Linked DNA regions of Homo sapiens: all the other regions are linked to region 3. The links are contacts of gene promoters, found by promoter capture Hi-C in human tissues and cell types (Jung and others, 2019). All regions are on one chromosome and are shown on one strand. The core of a region is centred on a gene start or on the middle of the fragment in contact, and the rest is flanking DNA. Distances in the headings are between cores, read along the strand shown.

Region 1 (4,901 bases), core at 492-2,991, 220 kb after region 3:
GTATTCCAGTTTGAATACCTGTTCTCTTTATATTATATAGTATAAGGGAATAATATGGTACTTCTCACCTTACTGGGCAAATTAAATACCTGTCAATAATTTAAGGATTTCCTTGTAATACAAATAATCTTTTTTTTTAAAATATAGAAGTTCTGAGTTAGACCTGTTTAGCTCAGAATAGTGGGCTAAACTACCATAAAATTCTCTGTATATCTTAAATGGTAATGGGTCAAAAACTCCAGAAAATCATCAGTTGATAACACACCTACAGATAAGTGCATGGGTAGGAGGGGATAGCCAAGTGCCCATGATAATTTGACCTCAGTAAATTAAACTGGGCAATACACATATTTGCTATTCTGATACTGCATTAGACTTATAAAATTCCATCTAATAAGCATTCATAAAACTGGACCTCTCTGTATATATCTAGCTTAGACAGGGATAGGGAAAAGAATAACTGAAGAAACTAGCTTACAATAGCTAGGTTTCGTCAGGCTTATTCTATCCAGCCAGAAACCACCACCAGAGAGAAGCTGAGCCATTCAGCTGTCTGTCTCCTCTCCCTCTGTTTGAATAGTCATGCCTAGGCCTTGCTGCAGACCAAAGCCTGTTTGTTAGGAGCAGGAAGAGACTTTGAAAATAAAAGGGGGGTGGGGGAAACCAAAGTTAAAAAAAATTGTGGGGGGGGCAGGGAATGGGGAGAATCACGCTTTGTATTTTTTTCTTTCAAATATTTATCTAACCACATGTATATACAACTTTCTAAACTTGAAGTCTGAATTTGAAATGACGAATCTTTAAACCAAAAGATACATATACCATTGACAGAGACACCTATCTATACAAACCTAGCCCACGGGAGGCTACATCTGTAGCAATAAGGATGGGTGCCTTTCCAGAACGGAACTCTGTAAAAACAAACAATAATCATCATCAAATAAGCATTCCTTGCTATCTGATCTGTTTACATAACCATGTTAAAATTTCAAATAATGGTGCCAGAAAATCCCAAGCTCTTGTAATGACTGACAGTGATTCTTTTGAAAATCTTTATTACACTCATATTCAGCAGCACAATAGTTACCTCTACTAATAATGAAATACCGTTAAGAGAGTGTGGCAATTTGTTACATAATTAATATGAGCTAGATTTTTTTCCCCTTAAAGTTATTTCCCAAATGAGACACAACCAAAAGTTGGGGGTCAGTAGGAAACAAGTTCAAAAGATGTAGAATGAAAAGAACTGAATTTCCCCCCAAAAGGTATGCATATTATTTATTTTTCTTTCTTTTTTTTGAGATGGAGTTTCGCTCTTATTGCCGAGGCTGGAGTGCAGTGGCGCAATCTCAGCTCACCGCAACCTCCACCTCCCGGGTTCAAGCGATTCTCCTGCCTCAGTCTCCCAAATAGCTGGGATTACAGGCATATGCCACCATGCCCGGCTAATTTTGTATTTTTAGTAGAGACGGGGTTTCTCCATGTTGGTCAGGCTGGTCTCGAACTCCCAACCTCAGGTGATCCGCCCACCTCAGCCTCCCAAAGTGCTGGGATTACAGGCGTGAGCCACTGTGTCCGGCCACATTTTATTTCTTAAACAAAATATGGCCTCTTCCATTTCTCAATGGCTTCCCTTAAGAGTAGTCCTGAAAAAAAGGACTGAAAGGAAATATGCTAAAATATGACTCATTAAGAAACATTTTTCTTTAAATATTTCAGTAACAGTTTAATTCTCCCCAAACGGTAGTTATATTTTTATAATCAGAAGGAAAAAATTGAAGACTTTATTAATAAAGGGAGGGTGGTGAAAGTTGTGAAAAAGTTTAAAGAGCCAGCATCGTGGCCCTTAAAGAACCATGAGCACACGCTAAAAGTACCCTCAGTAATTCAATCAACTATACAACAGGGGTAAGACAAACTGGCCTTTGGGCCAAATCTGGCACAACGCCTATTTTTGCAAATAAATATTGTCTGAACATAGCCACGTTTATCTCTTTGAGACAGGGTCCCACCCTGTCACCCAGGCTGGAGTGGCACGATCTTGGCTCACTCCAACCTGTCTCCTAGACTCAAGCAATCCTCCCACCTCAATCTCCGGAGTCGCTGGGGTTACAGGCGTGCACCACCAAGCTTGGCTAAGTTTTGTTTTGTTTTGTTTTTCTTTTAGAGACAGGATTTCACTATGTTGCCCAGACCGGTCTTGAACTCCTGGGCCTAGGTGATCCACGCGCCTCAGCCTCCCAAAGTGTTAGGATTATAGGCATGAGCCACCAACGGTGCCCAGTCCAGGCCACTTCTTTACATATTATCTACAGCCTACAGCTTTTGTCCTAAAACAGCAGTGCTGAGTGGCTATAACAGAGACCACCATTTGGTTTACAAAGCCAAGCATACTTACTATGTGGCCCTTTACAGAAAGTTTGCCTATCCCTGAAATAGAGCATGAACATTCACTTATGGGCAGGGGGTGGGGAATCAACAGAAAATGCTTAGTTTTAAACTTACCATTAAGTACCCAATCTCTTTCTGGTTGACTCTTGTCTCCATGGATACACATAGCTGGCCAACTATCAGAAGAAAAGTGACCAATATTTTAAAAATCTTTTAAAGTGGAGAAAATCGAACTTTAAAGCCAAATGCTATCATGCAATTTTTGTAAGGTTTGTCAGGCTTCATGAATAGATGACTGTGCTCATTAAAAGAGCAAACTGCATGGATAGGCATTATTGAAATATTACACAACATTTGGAATACCAATTTAGAAATTTCCAGTTAACTATAAAACCAGAGGTTAATTGCCTTGGTGCTATACTCACCCATCTCTGCGCATCCTTCGAGTCAGATCATCACAGCGTCTCTTTGTCTCCACAAATATTATTGTTTTGTTTTCCTTTTCAGCCATTATTTCTTCCATTAGTTGGATCAACCTGAAAACATGACCAACAATGCAGTCATCACACAGAAAGTTATTATGTGGACGATTATGTCTGCAATATCAACTCCCAAGGCTACAGTACTTTCTTTGCACATTACGCTTTTAAAATTTTTAATAACTATTAGAGTACTGAGTCAGGTTCTGCTATGTGCTCAAGAAATACTAACTCATACCATCCTCACAGCAAGTCTCATGTAAGTGGTATTACTCCCATTTCACAGATGAAGAAACTGCAGCACCAAGACACAAAATTGTGCAAAATTATACAGCTTGTAATCAGCAGAGCTAAATTTCAAACTCAAGAATTCAGAATCCTTGCATTTAACCATAATGCTCTGACAAATGATATGATGATGGATTATCAGAAACCTAGCAATGCTTTTAATGTTCTCAGGCCTCAAAATATACTGGTTTCTACAGTACTAATTTTGGAGGGTTATTAGAAAAGGTTTATCAGCATTATCAAATCAGAGTAAAATATCTTTCATACTTGTGGTCTTTTTCACTTTCCATGCAGACATCCACTATCTGGAGGATGTTGTGGTTGGCACTCAACTCCAGATTGCCTACGTTGATCTGGGTGTAATCACGAAGGAAATCCTCTGCAAGCTGTCTTACTTCTTTTGGCCAGGTTGCACTCCACATCAGTGTCTGCCTATCAGGCTATCAAAAAAGGAAAGGCTTTCTTTCAGGCTAAGGAACTTGGACAAATGGCATAAAGACTGCTTATTATTAGCTTTACACACCCTGATTTGGTCAACAATTTTACGGATCTGGGGTTCAAACCCCATATCAAGCATTCTGTCAGCTTCGTCCAATACAAGGTAAGTACATCGGCGAAGATTTGTCTTTCCTGACTCCAGGAAATCTATCAGACGTCCAGGAGTGGCTATGCAGATCTCAACACCTGTAAAACAAAACCAATGATCGAGCCAATCGACTAGGTGCAGTGGCTCACAGCTGTGTTCTAGCACTTTGGGAAGAGGAGGCGGGAAGATCGCTTGAGGCCAGTTCACAACCAGCCTGGTCAACATAGCAAGACCCCGACTCTACAAAAATGCAGCAGCAGCAGCCCTGGTGGCTGTACTCAATGCTGCAGAGAAGCTATTTTTTTTTTTTTTTTTGAGATGGAGTCTTGCTCTGTCACCCAGACTGGAATGCAGTGGCACGATCTCGGCTCACTGCAAGCTCCGACTCCCAGGTTCACGCCATTCTCCTGCCTCAGCCTCCCCAGTAGCTGGGACTGCAGGCACCTGCCACCACGCCTGGCTAATTTTTCGTATTTTTAGTAGAGACGGGGTTTCACCATGTTAGCCAGGATGGTCCCAATCTCTGGACCTCGTGATCCGCCCACCTCGGCCTCCCAAAGTGCTGGGATTACAGGCATGAGCCACCGCACTGGCCCAGAGAAGCTAAATTTTAACAAAGTAACCGCAAAACCATGTCAGGACTTATGTACAATCACCAAATCCTCACAAAGTTTCCAGCCATGCTGAACCTTCTCTCTCAAAATAGCTGTTTTAGTCACATCTGAGAATTTCTAAGCTGCTGAAATTCTGAGTTTATCACAAGAACCCACTTTTTTTCTCCAATTTCCTCCACAGGAATTGGTAAAGTAAGATAAACTAACAATTCTTTTACACTATATATTATTACCTCTTTCCAAGTCTCGAATCTGGGGACCTTTAGGAGCACCTCCATAAATACAAGTACTCTTCAATCTAGAACATTTGCCATAGTCATCGGCCACCTGCTGTACTTGCTGGGCAAGCTCTCTGGTAGGAGCCAGAACTAGACACTGAAACCAACAAAAAGACACTTGAGACCTCATCCAAGGTTTAAAAAAAAAAAAAAAAAAAAGAAGAAACAAAATACAAAAAGCTAATTTAATTCTTTGCTGTCTAATCTAGCACATTAAAAGTGATGGGGTGAAGATCAGAAGTGGGGAATATTAGCACAATGGAAT
Region 2 (5,126 bases), core at 1,521-4,020, 180 kb after region 3:
CCCCAGAAGCCCCCGAGCATCTAGGGCTGAGATGGGAAGAGTGAGCAGGAAGACAGGAAAGAAAGTTGAGGGCTGGCCACTTGCCCCCGGCCCTCTGGCCCTCCCCTACTGCTCTCCTCGTGCAGGGGGAGCGGCGGCGGTGGTGATGTAATGCACTCGGCTTTCGTCCCGGTGCCAATCTCAGAAGAGAGACGACAGATTGCGTGAGCCAAATTTGGCATCCTAGGGGGAGAGGCATGAAAAGTGGAGATGTGGAGGAGCAGAGAGGAGCCTGGGGTGGTGCAGGAGGAGCCCCCTGCCCTACAGCCCCGAGGTGCCTCCCCTCCCTCCCCTCAGGGCCCCCATCTCTTCCCCAGCTAGCCTGGCCCTGGGGCCTCCCCTCCTCACTCTGAGGGGCCAGCCTGGCTTCTCCCCGGACCCCTTGAGCCCGGCACTGCCAGGCCTACCCGCCACCCCCACCCCACACTGCTCCAGCTCTGTTTCCCACCGCCGCTAGTTTCCTGGTTACCATGTTGCCGGTTGTCATGTCGCTTACATGTCCTCGTGACTCAGTGGTCCCCGCAGAGGGGCCCCCTCCTCCTCACACCCCCCTTAGCACTCGCCCCCGCCTCCCCCAGATCCACATTAAGAACCAGCCCGCCCTGTAAGCCTACACTGTTCCTCCTCCCCTTCCTTCTTATCCTAAGCTAAGACATCTTCTCACAGCATCTCCCAGAGCTACTTCATTCTCTCTTTCGCAAATGTCTACGAACCTACTATGCTCCAGGCTGGCGCACGCGGCTTTCACAGACCTGACACAGTCTGGAAACTGCTCAACACCCTGATGAAGTCAGTATCATCATACCTATTCTCCAGTTGAAGAAACTGAGGTTCAGAGAGGTCAAGCCACCCACCCAAGGTCACCCAGCAGAAACTCAACCAGCTCTGCCTGGTCACAGCCACTCCAGAGGATTTTCTGAGAGAAGAGCTTTCTTTTCAAGGATAACCCAAAGGGCCATGAGGAATTGTACCCCAGATTCCCCCTCTAATCCTGGACACTCCTCCTTCGTCAGCTATTTCCGCCATATTCCCACTGCCCCACGCCCACCTCCACCCACTAGCTGTTCATCTCTCTTAAGGTAAAGTGAGTCTTTACTCCCATCTCCCCAGTGCTTTCCCCAGCCTGTGAACAGCCCACTGCTCATTGAGCCCAGGGCCCGCCTTGGAGGTCACTGGGGCAGGGAGTGACGTCCCCATGCCACAGATGTGGAAGATGACGGTTGGGAGGAGAGTGACCAGCCCAGGGGGCTGCTCTCCCAGCCACCTGAGCTAATTTCTGGGAGGCTGAATGGAGGACATATGAGACCCACTGCCCAGTGTGGAACACCCCAGAAAGAGTCCCTCCTCCCAGTGAGAATGGAGTGGAATGTTCTAGGCTCAGCCCTTCCAACTCCAGTTGGGATATGGGTCAGTTCAGTGGCCAACAGTCTCTGTTCCCACCATGCTGCACCCATCTCTTACCCCAGCTGCCCTGGTCCACCTTTTGCTCCCCTCAGCACAGGCCAAGCCAGGGCCACAGTGAGGCTCTTGGGCCCCTAAAGTCCTGCTAACTGCCCCCAAAAGGCCTGAAGCCATGGAGGTCATGGGACTGGATGTGGGGGAGAACACACACACACACGGCTCCAACCCTTCTCTGGGCCTCCCTCCCTGAGTTCCCCACTTCCCCCAAACCTGCTGCTGAACATTCTACTGCTCTTGAGGCCCTGCTCTGTCAGCTGGCCAGGCTGCCCTGCCTCTAGCCCGCCGCTCCACCCCACCCAGCTTGCCACCTCCCAACTCCCTGCATCCTGTCCATCCTGAAGCAGGGACACTGGGGGCAGAAATGTGGGTAGGGGGCAGGGAGGCTGACACTGGTGGGGGGACATTTGGCAGGTTGCAGGGGAAGTTCTCCCTGCGGGAGGCTCATTGAGACCTCTCTTGCCTTGGGGTGCTCCCTACACACGGAGGAAAAAGCAGCCTCTGCCTCCCTCCCCAGCCTGTGTCTATCACTGTGAACGTGCAGTGCCTCCTCTACCAATCCCTGCCCCTGCGCCCTGGGGTCGTGTGGCGCCAAGTAGGTGCTCAAAACATGAGAAGTGAGATTTCGTTCTTCAGATCACAGGGCCATTTGCAACGAGGATGCAGCTGGGGAGGCGGAAAGGCGGCATCCCCCACCTTGCCACAAGTCACCTGCCTTGAAGCTCCCCGGCATGACAACTGGGGTGGGTGGAGGCAGGGAAAGGTCATGGCTGGGGCAGGAGGTCAAGACCCCTTCCACCCACCTCTCTCCCCCTTTCCAGGCCACAACCCAGACCGCGACGCTCCCAGACGGACAGACGGACAGAGCCCGCCCGTGGAGCCCGCCCGCTCCCGGGGAGTCACGGGACCGCGCGCGCGGCGCCGGGCAGCCGGGACCCGGCTCCGGATCAGGTGCGGAGCGGGCGGGGCCGGAGCGGCGGGCCCGGGACACACAGACACGCACGCGGCGGGACAAACTGACGGACAGCGCCCGGGGTGGGCGAGCGCGGCTTACCGCTGGGCGGAGGGTCCGACGAGAGTCCGGGAGGCGGCGAGCGGGCGCTACATCCCAAGGCGCGATCCGGCGGGCGGCGTCCCGGGCGCGGAAAGGGGAGTCCCGGCGCCCCCTGCCCGCGAACTCGGCCGGCCGGCCCGCGCTCCCCTCCCCGGCTGCCGCTCGGTCTGCGCGTGGGTCTTGGGGTCTCCGCGCGTCCCGGCCGTCCCGCGCCGCTCCCCGCGGGCCGCCCAACTTTCAGCGCTGCCCCGCGCCGCGCCCTCGGCGCCGCCTCGGCGTCAGCATCGTCGGGCCCGGCCGGGCTCACAGCGCGGGGGTCCGGGGGCCCGGGGCGCCCCGCCGCCCGCGCCCCCCACCCCCGCTGCAGGCGCCCTCCCCGCCGCCGTCCCCCGCTGCGCCCAGCTCCCTCGCTGTCACCCGCTCCTGCTCGCGCGCTCTGCCCCCGGCCCTGCGCTCCACTCCCGGCCCCGCTGCGCTCGGCCCCGGCCCCGCGACCCCTCGGCCTCCCGGCCTGGGGTCGCCCTCCCCGCCCCCGCCGGCCGGGCTCTGTCGCCACCTCCCCGACCGCTCTCGCGTCTCTCTCCTGCCGCCGGGGTCTCCGCCGCGCTCGCGTCCCGGTCCCTCTCCCGGCCTCCCTGCCTCCTGCGGCCCCGCTCGCCCTCTGCCCGCGGGGTCTCCGTCTCCGTCGCGGTCGCCCGCCGGCCTCCCCCCGCCTCCCTCTGCCCGCGCTGCCTCTCTCCCCTGCGCGTCTCTGTCCGTCTCCCTCGCGGCCCCTGTCCTTCTCTGTCTCTCCCCCTCCCACTCTCCGTGCGGCCCCCTCTGTCTCGGACCCCGGCCCCCGCCTTGGCCGCGTCCCCGGCTCGCCCGGGAGCCCGAGCTCCCGCCGCCCGCGGCGCGCCGAGAACTCCCAACTCGCGGCACGCCGCCCCGCTTTGCGAGACTTTCGCCCCTCCTCACACGTGACCCGCGCCCCACTGCGGAGGCCGCGCGCCCCCCAGCCCGGGAGCCCCGGCTGCCCGCGGGACCCCGCCCTGCCCGCCCCTCGGCCTAACCCGGCCTCAAGCCCCCTCCCGCGGGGCCCGCGGCGCGGAGCAGGGGCTGGGGCGGGGGGCTGCTGGCCCCGCTCCTGCCCTGGATCCTGCCCGGGTTTTCCTCCTCGCCCCAGGAGCGCTCCTCCCAGAACCCGTTCCTGGATCCGCTCCCGGGTTTTGTGCCCCCCCCCCAAAAGGGGGCAGGTGGAGAGGGTTCCTCCGAGCCGGGAAGGGGGGTGGGTGGGAGCTGGTCCCTCTGGGGTCCCACGGAGTCCGCCCCTCTCCTTAGCGGTCCTCGTACTCTCCCAAAGTACCGCCGGTCAAGGACCCGAAGCACCTCACTCTGGGAGTCTGAGGGGGCCCTATTGGAGGGACCCTCGCGATCACTCAGTCACCACTGCCCCATTTTACAGATGGCGAGACTGGGTACCAGAGAGGGTCAGAAACTCGGCCAAGGTCACCCAGAGATGACAAAGCCAGGCCAAACCCTAGTCTCTTATTCTCTGTCGCTCTCCATTACCCCAAGCTGTCAGGCCTGGGCCCCACACTCTGGGGTGTCAGGGAACCCCCAGCACCCACAGCACCTGTCTAGCCAGCTACATCCTGACCATCCTGCCACGTCACTCTAGCCCTCCGAGGAGACAGGAGGGAAAGTGCTCCTCCTTCCAGGGTGGTAGGACGAGAGAACACCTGCAGTTAGACAGCCAGCAAAACTTCCCTGGGAGTCTGGCCATCACCGACTAGCCCCATTACAGAGAGGGAGAGACCGAGGCACCCCAAAGCCAGGTGGAGAACTGATGAAATCTGAAATCCCCTCTGGCTCTCCTGAGCCTCGAGGATGTCAGCATAAGAACAGCAACACACAAACCACCACAAGTGTTTCCCTTCCTCGTGGGCTCTCCCTACTCAAAAGGATTCAGTCCCAACTCCTCAGTGTGGTATAGTCAGGCCCCACCTTATCCGGCATCCCACATCCCATAAATCCACAGGTACACCCTGATTCCACAGATTCCAGAACACGCCACAGGCCTCCACACCTCTCTGCCTGCACGCACTGTTCCTCCTCACTAAGATATCCTTCCACCTTTTTTGCCCAGAGAATTCCTGCTGTTCCCCAAGCCCAGCCTCAGTGCCACTTCCTTGAGAAGGCCTCCTGATGACCCCAGCAGAAGTCATTTATCACCCACTCATTCATTCAACCAGCACTAGGCACCCACCACATACCAGCCCCTGGGCGGGGCACAAGTATGGTTCTTGCTTAGTGGGATGAGGAGTCAGGCTAACCTAGGCTCAAAAGCACCTAGGAGCTACTTGACCTTGAACAAGTTTTTATTTAATCTGTCTGTAAATTGAGGACCCTAACGTCCTCCATTCCCAAGGGGTAGATTAAGTGAGGTGGATGCACAAGAAATACACAGATCATGGTAGGCGCTCAATAAATGTGGCCATCCTTTCTCACGGCTCTCTCCGACTGTGCAGACCTCCAGAACGCACGTCCTGTTCCACGCCTCTCCCTGGTTACCCTGCTGTGTCCTCACAGGCAG
Region 3 (5,410 bases), core at 1,575-4,074:
CCTTCTCCTTCATAGGTGGAGCACCCCTCGTCCTTCAGGGCCAAGACGACTTCCAGCACCCCAGGGTTATGGGGGAGGAGCATGGGCTCTGAGGTCAGACCTACTGGTTCAAAACTCAGCTGTTCCACTCTCTGCTGCCTCCCCTACAAAATGCAGACAGTGACAGCCCCCACCACACTGGGTGGTAGGAAAATTAAATACAGTAATTCATGAAAGCGCTTTGAACTGTGCCTGGCACACAGTAAGTGCTCAATAAACGGACTGTTGTTCCTATTGTCCTCTGGGCCCCTTTAGGGCCCTCTGTTTCCACCACAAGTAGGGCACTGTCTTGCACATATTTGTTACACATTGGGCTCCCTCTGCCAACCACCTTTTAGAGGGCTGCCCCAGCACAGTGCAGGGCAGCATGGTCTTCGGTGAGTGCTTACTACCCGGGGCTGCAGGGCCTGGTGCAGACCCCACACAGAGCTCTCCCAGGGGCCCAGCTATTGGCCTTCCAGAACTCCCACACCAGATCCCCAGTCTAAAGGCCCAGAGCTGTGACTCGTTTTCAAAACAATAAAAAGCTGTACCCTGCCTTGCCGGGGCTGTTTCCACTCCAGGGAATTTACAGAGAGAAAATGAGCACAGCAGGGACTGGAAATAGCTCTGAGCCCTTCTCAGGGTGAGGGACTGGGCAGGCCAGCCAGAGACCAGGAGCAAAACCTCTAAGACAGAGAGGGAGCAAACAGCCTCCGGACAGAAGCCCCTGCTCACAGAACTCGGCCAATAGGAAAGAACTAGGACAAGTGGCTCATTCACCCTTCTGCCTCGAAGCTCTTCTTTCTACTTGGTTGGAGAAATTCAGAAGGGGCTCTTTGAATAACCCACCACCACCGTGGGTGCAACAAATAAGACATCCAGAATCCCAACGACTGCACAAATGCTTTGGGGGAATTCACAGCGCCTTCTCCACCCACATTAGCTATTGGAGCCTCGTATCCAGATTGGGGTCACTAAATCAGTGTCCATCTTCCCAGCACTGGGAGCCCCTAGAAGGCAGGCACCAGGTCCCATTGATCATCAGACCGCTATGCCCCAGCATAGTGCCTGGCACATAGTAGATGCTCAGTAAGTTGCAAGACAAGATCTGGCAGCAAGAGAGAGGTCCTGGTTAAAGGATGATTCCATCCAGGCTTGCCACGTATCGTGGAGAAGAACGTCATGAATTCCCTCTGGGCCTCAGTTTACCGCATCTGCAAATAGGGACAACTGTTCCTTACTCACACAGCTGCTGTGCAAATTACACAGGAAAATATATGTGGAAAGCAGAAAAGCCTCAGATGAACGTCAGTCATCCTTCAGGCTTCAGCTCAACCGTCTCCTTATGAGGGAGTCTTTCCTGCGGCCACGATCCCCCTCCCCGGGAACTGAACCTGCCTCTGTACTCCTTCTACTCCTTTGTTTGGTATTTTTCACATCATCGTGATCACCTGTTTCCAAATCTGATTCCCCCATGCTTGAGAGCTCCTTGATGGCTTGGGCATCAAATGTTTCTGTCCAGGTGGGCACACATACCTGGCTGCTGGGGCTCTCCCACCCCAGCGTCCCAGGTCCCAACTCTGATACGCACAGCACCCTAGGCAAGGTTCAGAGGTGCAGAGCCTAGGGGTTCTACCAAGGAAGCTAAATAGGTAGATGGAAAGGGACACTGTAGGCATAACCTGTCAACGAAGTCACACCTCTGAGACCTGCGCTGCCTCTGCAGGTGCAGGTGAGCTTGTTTGCCTGGCTGACTCTGCAGCGCAGGGCCTCCAGGGCACAGATTGCTGCTTCTTTCCTTACAAAAGCACCAGCAGTCAGATAAATAATACATGGCCTTCACCTCACCACAGGTATCAGGCATGCAAATACCTGCTTTGCCCCAAAATGCCCTGGAAAGGAGGGAGGAGTAAAACGTCTGGCCTTATACAACACCTCCAGAGGGGATATGTATTGGGAATCCATGCCCAACCCCCAGCATAACTGCCTTGCCTTGGCCTGGAGCCACCCAGCACTGGAGGTAAGTGGATCCAAGCGAGGTACCAAGGGTGTGCCCAGGAGGAAATGTACAATTCACGGGAAGGATACAGACACCCAAAACCAGTCTCCACGGTCCCTTTGGGGGCAAACATCTTTCGAGCCCCAGGTCCCAGTCGATCCCCTTCCAAACCTGCGGACCTGTGTGGCGGGCGTGTACACCCTCCACTCACGACGCAGCCCCGAAAGCCCCCCGCCGACCACCCTCCCAGGTCACTGCCACCCGCACAGGGCACGGACGCCTCCCCCACTCACTCGGCCGTGCCAGTCGCCAGCACACCCACCCGGGAGCACACAATCCCTCTTGCAAAGCGCCTTGGTCCATCCGCCTCCCTCTCCCGGGGCCGCCCCCCGGACAGGTCCGATTACACTCCAGGAGCTGCCCCCGCCACGTTGGCGTGGAAAGGGAGCGGGCACACCCACGGGCGACCTCGCGGGGCGGAGAGGAGGCACGGGTGGGGAGACGGATGCCCCCTCCCTCCGCGGCCGCACCGGCCTCCGTAGTGCCCTCCCCGCCCGGGAGCCGGCGGCCGAAGCCGGGCGTCCCTCGCGCGGGCCTCTCCGAAACAAGCAGCCCCCCGCGCTCGGGAGTCGCAGCTCCCCCTTGGGGCTCCCGGGCGAGGCCGGCCAGGCGGGATACCTCAGGAGCCCATGGCGGTGGCGGCGTCTGCGGACGATGCGCGGCAGCCGGACTCTGCGGGCGGGGCGGGCGGCGCCGCAGCCCCGGAGTCTCCGCCGCCGCCGGCGCGTCCCGGGCCCAGTGGAGTGCAGCCGCGGCGCGCATGCGCTCTGGGCTCGCCGCCGGGGAGGGCGGGGCGGCGGACGCGGCTGAGATCACTGCCTGGGCCTTAAAGGGGCCGCGCCCCGAACCCCAGCCCGCCGCCCCGAACCCCAGCCCGCCGCCCCGCGGGTTGGGGCGCGACCCGGGTTCTCTTGCCACTCACAAAACCAGCTACGACCGGCCCCCAACCGCGAGAGCTTTCTGGGCTGCGATCTCTGCCCCTGACCCTCGCTGGTGCTTCACTTCTTTTAACCCTAATTTCCTCCATTTGAGCCTGTTTTGAAGATGAAACGAAATACAATGGCTATTTGTTGAGTGAAGGATGCGTGTGGAATTGTGGAATGAACGTGGACCGAGTGTTGTGTGCAATTAGGCCAGATGAAATGGCAAAGCACTGAAAGAGGCCTTTTTTTCCCACTCCGCTTAGCAGCGATTCTTTCTTGCCCCGTCTGGCTCTAGGCTGCCGAACTAGCAAAAGTCTTCAGATAGGGTTCAAGCCGCCTAGTCCATTTCTGTTTGCCGGTCCAGACATCACCTAGGTTAACTGAACAAGATAAAATGCAATTAAGTTCTGGCATTGATGTGCTCAAGATCCCCAAATGTATTTATGTCTCCAGACTCCTCGCCTGAACTGTCTACCCAACACCTCTTCCTTGGAGCTCCAGCAGGCATCTCAAAGTCAGCGTGTCTGAGCTGAGCCAACCCCACTTCCACACACAAAAACCTGCTCCCTCTCAGCTTTGCCTCCATCAGCTGTTGACAATTCCATCCTTCCAGTCCCCAGGCCAGAACTCGGAGTCAGCTGTGAATGAATGCCCCCCTTCTGCCCGCTACCCAATAAGGCAGGCAGGAGATCCTGTTGGCTCTACCTGCAAAATAGATCTAGACTCAGATGTCTGCCACTCCTCCTCCAGTGCTACCACCCTGGTCCAGTATTTGCACAGGATTATTGCAGAGTTCTGCTAACCCCTCTCCCTTGTTCCAGCCTTGCCCTCTGATCCATTCTATCAATTCAGGGGTGAGGGAGATCCTTTTTTTTTTTTCTCTTTTTTCTTTTTGAGACAAAGTCTCGCTCTTTGTCTCAAAGTTGCCCAGGCTGGAGTGCAGTGGCGCGATCTCGGCTCACTGCAAGCTCCGCCTCCCGGGTTCACGCCATTCTCCTGCCTCAGCCTCCCGAGTAGCTGGGACTACAGGCGCCCGCCACCATGCCCAGCTAATTTTTTGTATTTTTAGTAGAGACGGGGTTTCACCGCGTTAGCCAGGATGGTCTTGATCTCCTGACCTTGTGATCCGCCTGCCTCGGCCTCCCAAAGTGCTGGGATTACAGGCGTGAGCCACCACGCCCAGCCAAGATTCTTTTAAAATCTGCCGGGCACGGTGGCTCACGCCTGTAATCCCAGCACTTTGTGAGGTCGGGTGGCTCATTTAAGGCCAGGAGTTACAGACCAGCCTGGCCAATATGGTGAAACCTTGTCTCTGCTAAAAATACAAAAATTAGCTGGGTGTGGTGGTACATGCCTGTAGTCCCAGCTACTCTGGAGGCATGAGAATTGCTTGAACCCGGGAGGCGGAGGTTGGGTTGTGGTGAGCCAAGATCGTGCCAATGCACACCAACCTGGGTGACAAAATGAGAATCTGTCTCAAAAAATAAAATAAAATCGAAGTCAAAACATGGTACTTTTTTGCTCAAAACCCTCCATTGGCTCACTGTTTCGCTCTAAGTAAAAGCCTTACAAGTCCTTACAAACACTTGATCTGACATTCTACTCTCCTGGGGATTCCTGATCTCATTCATCTCTTACCCTTTCCCTCCACACTGATCCCTTGCTGTTCCTAGAACAAGCTGAGCACACTCAGCCCCGAGCCCCCTGCACTAGCTGTTCCCTCTGCTGCGATCGCTGTTTCCCCAGATACCTGAATGGCTCCTCCATCACCTTCTTCAAGGGTTTGCTCGAATGTCCTCCACTTAGTGAGGCCTGCTGTGAGCACCCCTAGTAAAACTACCAGACCCCTCACATGCACTCTGTATTTCCCTTTACCGTGCCCTACTTTCCCTGTCACTTCATTTCTTTCTTTCTTTCTTTTTTTTTTTGAAGCGGAGTCTCGCTCTGTCACCCAGGCTGGAGTGCAATGGTGCTATCTCGGCTCACTGCAAGCTCCGCCTCCCGGGTTCATGCCATTCTCCTGCCTCAGCCTCAGAGTAGCTGGGACTACAGGCGCCCACCACCATGCCTGGCTAATTTTTTGTATTTTTAGTAGAGACGGGGTTTCACCGCGTTAGCCAGGATGGTCTCGATCTCCTGACTTCGTGATCCGCCTGCCTCAGCCTCCCAAAGTGCTGGGATTACAGGCGTGAGCCACCCTGTCACTTCATTTCTATCATATTATATAGTTTGCCTGTTTCCCTGTGTGTCTTCTTCTAGTAGAACACAAAATTTTTCGGTTTTGTTTTTTTGTTTTTGAGACAGTCTCTGTCACCCAGGCTGGAGTGCAGTGGCACAATCTCAGGTCACTGCAACATCCGCCACTCAGGCTCAAGTGATCCTCCCACCTCAGCCTCCTGGTTAGCTG
Region 4 (5,548 bases), core at 2,595-5,094, 240 kb before region 3:
TGTGTTCCCTGACTACCTTGTGTGCATGAGAGAGAGAGACTGCGCTAGAGATGGAGGAGGTCACCACATGAGAACAGTGGGGACCTGGGTGATTTAGACAGAGACACAGAGCCAGGATTGGAGGCTGCGTGGGCTGCTTTCCTGCTGCACGGCGATGCTTTAGGGTGGGGGGTTTCAAGACTGATAAGGGATTGGGAGCCCCTTCTCACAGCCCCACATGGTCTTCCCTGGGGTCAACACACCTGGATGGCACATGGACAACTCCCTGTGCTCCAAATGTCAGTGCAGGGTGACTGATACGGGGGCTCATGACCCTCTGTGCCTGCGCATGCATCTGTGTGTGCGTGTGTGTGTGTGCGTGTGCGTACGTGTGTGTGCATGTGTGTGTGCGCATACGTGTGTGCATGTATGTGTGTGCATACGTGTGTGCATGAATGTGTGTATGTGTGTGCCTATGTGTATGCACGTGCATGTCTCTGGGTGTGCTTGGGAGATAGAGAAGAAAGCAGAAATTGGGGAGAGGACAGCGGCCACATAGCCACTGTGTCCCTCTGTGGGATGGGGAGGAAGGGGCAGCAGCAACAGCCTGTCCCGCTCCTGCACACACACCCTCTGAAGGTCTGAGTGAAATAGGCAGAGAATGGGATGTGGCTGTTTGTCCTGGGGGCTTTAGGGGACCCTCCACCCGCACTGTGATAGGCAGGCAGCTCCCAGGCCTGTCTGAACAGGAACTCTGCCAGCTCTCCAAAGGCCCTGCAAGCCCCGGCCACTCCATCACAGCTCATTGATGGGCACTTATGGGTGCTGACTGTGCACTTGGCTGGTGAGCCAGGCCTGGAGTGGGCAGGAGAGGCTTCTGAAAGGGTTTCAGAGGAGTCCACAGTCTGAGAGAAGAGAACACCCTGAAAAAGGGAGTTCAGGGGTCTGAGGAGAGACTGCTGTGGTCTGCAGGGTGAGGTGGTGCTGGTGAAGGCAGCCGAGGAAGGGGCGTCACCCACTGGAAGGCTTGCAGCTTAGGGAAGGAGACTTGAAGATTAGAGATGGATAAGGAGTGGGGCATATCACAGAATCCCAGAATAGGAGATGCAGAATGTCTTTGGAAATGACCCCGTCTAAGTCTGGCTTATCCAGAGGGGAAAACTGAGGCCCAAGGATAGTGGAGGATGACTTGGCTGACAGTGATGGAGTCATTTCAAGTTAGTTCAACAAGCACCTCCTAAGCTTGTTGGGCACCAGCCTGAGGATAAAGCCTTAAATAAGGCTCTGTCTCCTCTGGCTATGGTCTAGTGGGGTGATGGACAGACAGATAAGCACTACCCTGTGCCATGAGTGCAATGATCAGTGTGTGCAGGGCACAGGGGCAAGGGGGTAATGGAGGACTTCTAACTGGCAAGACCTCTCAATGGAGGCAGCACCTGGGATGGGTTTTGAAGGATGCAGAGGAGTTTGAGACTGACCACAGAATGAAGGGATTGGTTTCCAGGTAACCTGGATGGTTCAAGTTGGTTTCTGTTTTTGCTACCTGTGAAGCAGTGACCAGTCTGTCCTCCATTAACACCCCATCATCTGGGAGACTGCAAGCAAGCTAGGGAAGGCAGGGGATTTTGGGGTGTCTCTGTCCTGAGGCAGAGGATTGGATGCAGGGTTTCCCAGGGTCTTAGCCTTCACCAAGGCACCATCAGGTCAGTCCTGGTTGTGGAGCCTTCGTCCACGCTCCCTCCCATTCAGCCAAGAAACATTGATTGAACACCAATTGTGAATGAGCCTTGCAGGCTGGAGATGATTTCAAGAGGCAGAGTTAGGGGAAAGGCATTTTGGGAAAAGGGAATAGCGTGAGCCAAGGTGAGGCTGTTGCAGCAGCAGGAAACTAAGGAAGCAAGGGCCTTTTCCACAAGCATCATCTGTTCTTGTTTGGCTCAAGCGTGGGGGCAGCAAGGGAACAGTTAAGATGCAGCTGGGAAGATTGCCTGGGCCTGAAGCTGGGGATGGAAAACCCAGGGGAGGAGTCTGGACTTTTATTGGTGGCAAGTGGGAGATATCAATGGATTTTGAGCAAGAACGACTCCCCGAAGATCCCCAGATAGGGCTGGGAGCTTGAGAGAACCCACAAGCCCCCTGGGGAGCCAGGAGTCGGGCCCTCTGGACAGTCATGTGCTGGTAAATATGCTTCACAACCAGCTCTGTTTGTGGAGGTGGGAGACACAGAGGTAGACTGCCAATTTTCATAGTGGAAAAAGTCCCATCAGGGCAGGCTCAAAGCTTCCAAGGTAATATCAACTGGCTTCGATTCCAGAGACTTTCACAGTTGGCTCTCGGGAGCCAGTGTGCGCTGACTCCAGCGCACTGCCACACCCTGGGTTATAAACTGTATTTGCCCAAGACTGCTAGTGCTCAACCCTCCTTCTCCCCGATCATTCCCATGGTGCCCTGCAAACCGGAGCCCGAGGATAGAAAAGTACTCTGTGGTTTGTCCAAGCCCAGGGGACCGCCATGGTCTGAGACCCCAGGCCTGTGGGTCTGAGACTTAGCTCAGCTGCTTATGCACTGGGTGATTCAGGCACATCCTCACTTCTCTGGGATGACTTGCTTTGCAGGGTCACTCCCGGGATAAGAAGAGGTCATGCAGTGGGGAGGTGTGGGTGGGGGCAGGGTTGTGCTGGGAAGGCCTGGGGAGCGTGGTCAGTGGTTCCCCGGGGATCAGGAACAGGCCCTCTCCCACCCCACCCCCAGCTCAGTTGCTGGACAAATCCATCAGATCAGTCGGCTGTCACCAGTAGGGGGTGGGAAAGGCAGGGTCTGTGAAATGAGGGGCCCTGGGACAGGACGAGGGCTGGAAGAGCTGTGAGAGGCCCTGGGCAAGAGGTAAGGAAGCAGGCTACAGACCACCAGCACTTCAGACCCTGCCAATGGAAAGACGGGTCTTGGCAAGTGTCGGTGTCGCCCCCTCCCTCCTTGTCCCTTGGGAAACTCCTACTACTCTGTCAGGCCTCAGCTCCAGCACACCTCTTCCAAGACGCAGGGGTTAAGAGCGAGAGTTTGGGTGTCATTCCATCTGCAGGGCCCTGGACAATCTGCTTCATCTTTTTCAAACTCATCTGTAAAATGCGGACAGTAATACCACAGAGCCTGCAGGATGGTTGCAAGGATTAAATGAGATGTTCTTGGCACGGAGGAGCCTACTTCTGACAACAAGGATGCCCTCGTTCCTTGGCTACTTCTCCTACCCACGTCCCCCCACAAGGTAGACTTGGCCCTCTGAGTCCTCACCACACCACCCTCTTAGCCCAGGTAGTAATTACAGTCATGTCTGTCTCCTCCATGGAACAGTGAGCCCCTAAGTGTGGGGACTGGGTCTGATTCACCACCAGGTCCCCAGAGCCCAGTGCAGGACCTGGGCAGGCACGGACTTCACACCCTGTGCCGCTGTCCAGGTCCCCACCAGCACCAACACCCTGTCCCAGGCGCCTGATGTCACAGGTGTCCCGGCTGAGTGGCAGCTCCTCACTCAGCTTCCACTTCCTCACGTGTGACCCTGGTGACCTCCGAAGGTTGCTTCCAGCCTGAAAGTGCTGTGAGTCCATGTCTCAAACCCGCGTCACCATGCTGCCCCCAGACCAACCCCTCCCCGCTTCCCTGCCCCATCAACGGCCCCACTGTTCTCCAGTGACCCAGGCATGAAGCTTCGGAGTCATTTTTGACTCATCCATCCCCTTCATCCCCTATGGCTAGTCATCGGCCATGACAATTTTTCCTTCCAAACACATCCGTAGTCCCCTCCCCAGCATTCTAGTCCCCTCTGTCTTGGCCTCTGTTTTGGTCTGAAGTCTGGAGATTTTGTCCAGTTTCTTTTTTTTCTTTTACTTTTTTTTTGAGACAGGGTCTTGCTCCGTGGCCCAGGTTGGAGTACAATGGCGCGATCTTGGCTCACTGCAGCCTCAACCTCCTGGGCTTAAGTGATCCTCCCACTTCAGCCTTCCAAATAGCTGGAAGCCTAGGCACAAGCCACCACACCCAGCTAATTTTTAATTTTTTTGTAGAGACAGGGTCTCACTCTGTTGCCCAGGCTGGTCTTGAACTCCTGATCTCAAGCAATTCTCTCACCTTGGCCTCCCAAAGTGCCAGGGTTACAGATGTGAACCACTGCACCACACCTGGCCTGCTTTTATCCATTTTCTAACTGGCCAGTGTCCTCTCACCTTCCACCACAGCCATCTTCCCAGGAGAGCTCTGGAGTTCCACTGTTACGGTCCTCCCAAAAATGCACAGCGGGTATCTGACAGGGGAAACTGCTTCACACCCATCACCTGCCCCTGAATCCATCAGTCAGGAGCCGAGCTGCTGCCTCGAGGCTGAGTGTGCCCAGGAGAGACCGGGGTCTCTGCCCACAGTCAGGCACATAGTCCACTGAGCTCTGCTATTCCTTAGGCCCAACACTGGGCATGGGGCAGGGAAACCAGGATGCTTGAGGCATAGGCCCTGTCCACACCCTGATTGGGGACATGGATGGATGATGCCACACTGACACAGTGTGCTGTAGGAACCAACGTGGGGTGGCGGACGCCCCTCATGCTGCCTGGAATCAGGACGTGTCACAGAGGACAGACAGTCGAGCTGGGTCTTGAGGAATGAGCAGGAGTTCTGCGGAGAGGGTGCTTCAGCAAGGAAGCTGCCTGGATGCGCAGTTATGAAGGCCTGCAGGGGCAGGAGGGGTGGCCACGGTGGGAGGTGGGGAGGCCAAGCTGAGAAGGGCTCCGTGGGCCACTGGTGAGCTGCCTCTGGAATCCCTTACTGCCGTCCATAATTCATGTCCCCCACACGGAGCATGACATAATTCATGTCCCCCACATGGAGCATGACATAATTCATGACCTCCCAACCTGTGACGCAACACCTCCTTGTAAACATCAAAGCAGCCATCTGTGAGCCATCTTTGAGCCCAGGAGGTTGAGGCTGCAGTGAGTTGTGATCATGATACCGCACTCCAGCCTGGGCCCCAGAGTGAGACCCTGTCTTAAAAAAAAAAGAAAGAAAAAAGAAAATTAAAAAAAAAAGGAAGTGGACAAAATCTTGAGATTTTGCACAGAGCTGTCCTCCCTAGTTGCCCTGTCTTTCTTCGCCAGCCTTTTCAGGTGGACGGGGCATGGCTTATCTCTCCCATTTTACAGATGAGGACTCTTGAGACCTACAGAGAGAAAGCGCTTGTCCAGGGCGGCCTGCTAGGCTCTGGTAGAGCCAGGGCTGGAATTTCCCTGGCCCCAGATCCCAGAGTCTAGAGGTTGCAGCGGGGTTCAAGCCTGGTTACCCAGTCCCTCTGGGGTAGGGCTGGTTCTGTAGGACCAGATGGGGCGACAGACAGGCCCAGCTGCTGGGAACTCCAGGACCAATCACCAGTGCCCACAGAGCCTCGCCAAGGCAAGCCCTGCTGGGCTGGCACAGCCTCTGAGGCCAAGCCTGCTCCCCCAGTGCAGTGGGGGTTGGGGGATGGGATCTGGCCCCGGCGGAGCGGGAGGGACTGGGTGGCGGATTTGTGTTTCCACTTGATTTCCTC

The links. The method cuts DNA at HindIII sites, captures the fragments that hold promoters and counts their contacts. A contact is called where the count stands out against the background at its distance.
Region 1: a contact is called between a fragment that was not itself captured here and the fragment with the promoter of TMEM184B in region 3, in 1 of the 25 tissues and cell types used here (dorsolateral prefrontal cortex).
Region 2: the fragment with the promoter of KCNJ4 here is called in contact with the fragment with the promoter of TMEM184B in region 3 in 2 of the 25 tissues and cell types used here (dorsolateral prefrontal cortex and neural progenitor cells).
Region 4: a contact is called between a fragment that was not itself captured here and the fragment with the promoter of TMEM184B in region 3, in 1 of the 25 tissues and cell types used here (pancreas).

What each region holds. Positions count from the first base shown.
Region 1 is chr22:38,491,205-38,496,105 of GRCh38, forward strand. DDX17 (DEAD-box helicase 17) reads right to left here. Exons shown (of 13, transcript NM_006386.5): 6 at 4,592-4,733; 7 at 3,682-3,842; 8 at 3,426-3,598; 9 at 2,817-2,927; 10 at 2,506-2,567; 11 at 852-911. Among named protein-coding and RNA genes, the nearest start is that of DDX17, 13 kb to the right of the region's middle. The HindIII fragment of the contact is 4,436 bases long and covers 1-3,959 here.
Region 2 is chr22:38,452,429-38,457,554 of GRCh38, forward strand. It overlaps KCNJ4 (potassium inwardly rectifying channel subfamily J member 4), which reads right to left and starts at 2,771. Exons shown (of 2, transcript NM_152868.3): 1 at 2,552-2,771. LOC124905116 (a long non-coding RNA gene) reads right to left here. Exons shown (of 2, transcript XR_007068096.1): 2 at 4,894-5,126. RefSeq lists enhancers at 1-48, 49-667. The HindIII fragment of the contact is 19,664 bases long and covers 1-5,126 here.
Region 3 is chr22:38,270,186-38,275,595 of GRCh38, forward strand. It overlaps TMEM184B (transmembrane protein 184B), which reads right to left and starts at 2,825. Exons shown (of 9, transcript NM_012264.5): 1 at 2,699-2,825. RefSeq lists an enhancer at 1,576-2,285 and a silencer at 2,348-2,977. The HindIII fragment of the contact is 18,337 bases long and covers 1-5,410 here.
Region 4 is chr22:38,028,146-38,033,693 of GRCh38, forward strand. It overlaps POLR2F-AS1 (POLR2F antisense RNA 1), which reads right to left. Exons shown (of 2, transcript NR_199596.1): 2 at 4,027-5,010. It also overlaps a transcript of POLR2F not described here. Among named protein-coding and RNA genes, the nearest start is that of POLR2F-AS1, 3.3 kb to the right of the region's middle. RefSeq lists enhancers at 282-782, 2,877-4,076, 5,088-5,548. The HindIII fragment of the contact is 4,209 bases long and covers 1,741-5,548 here.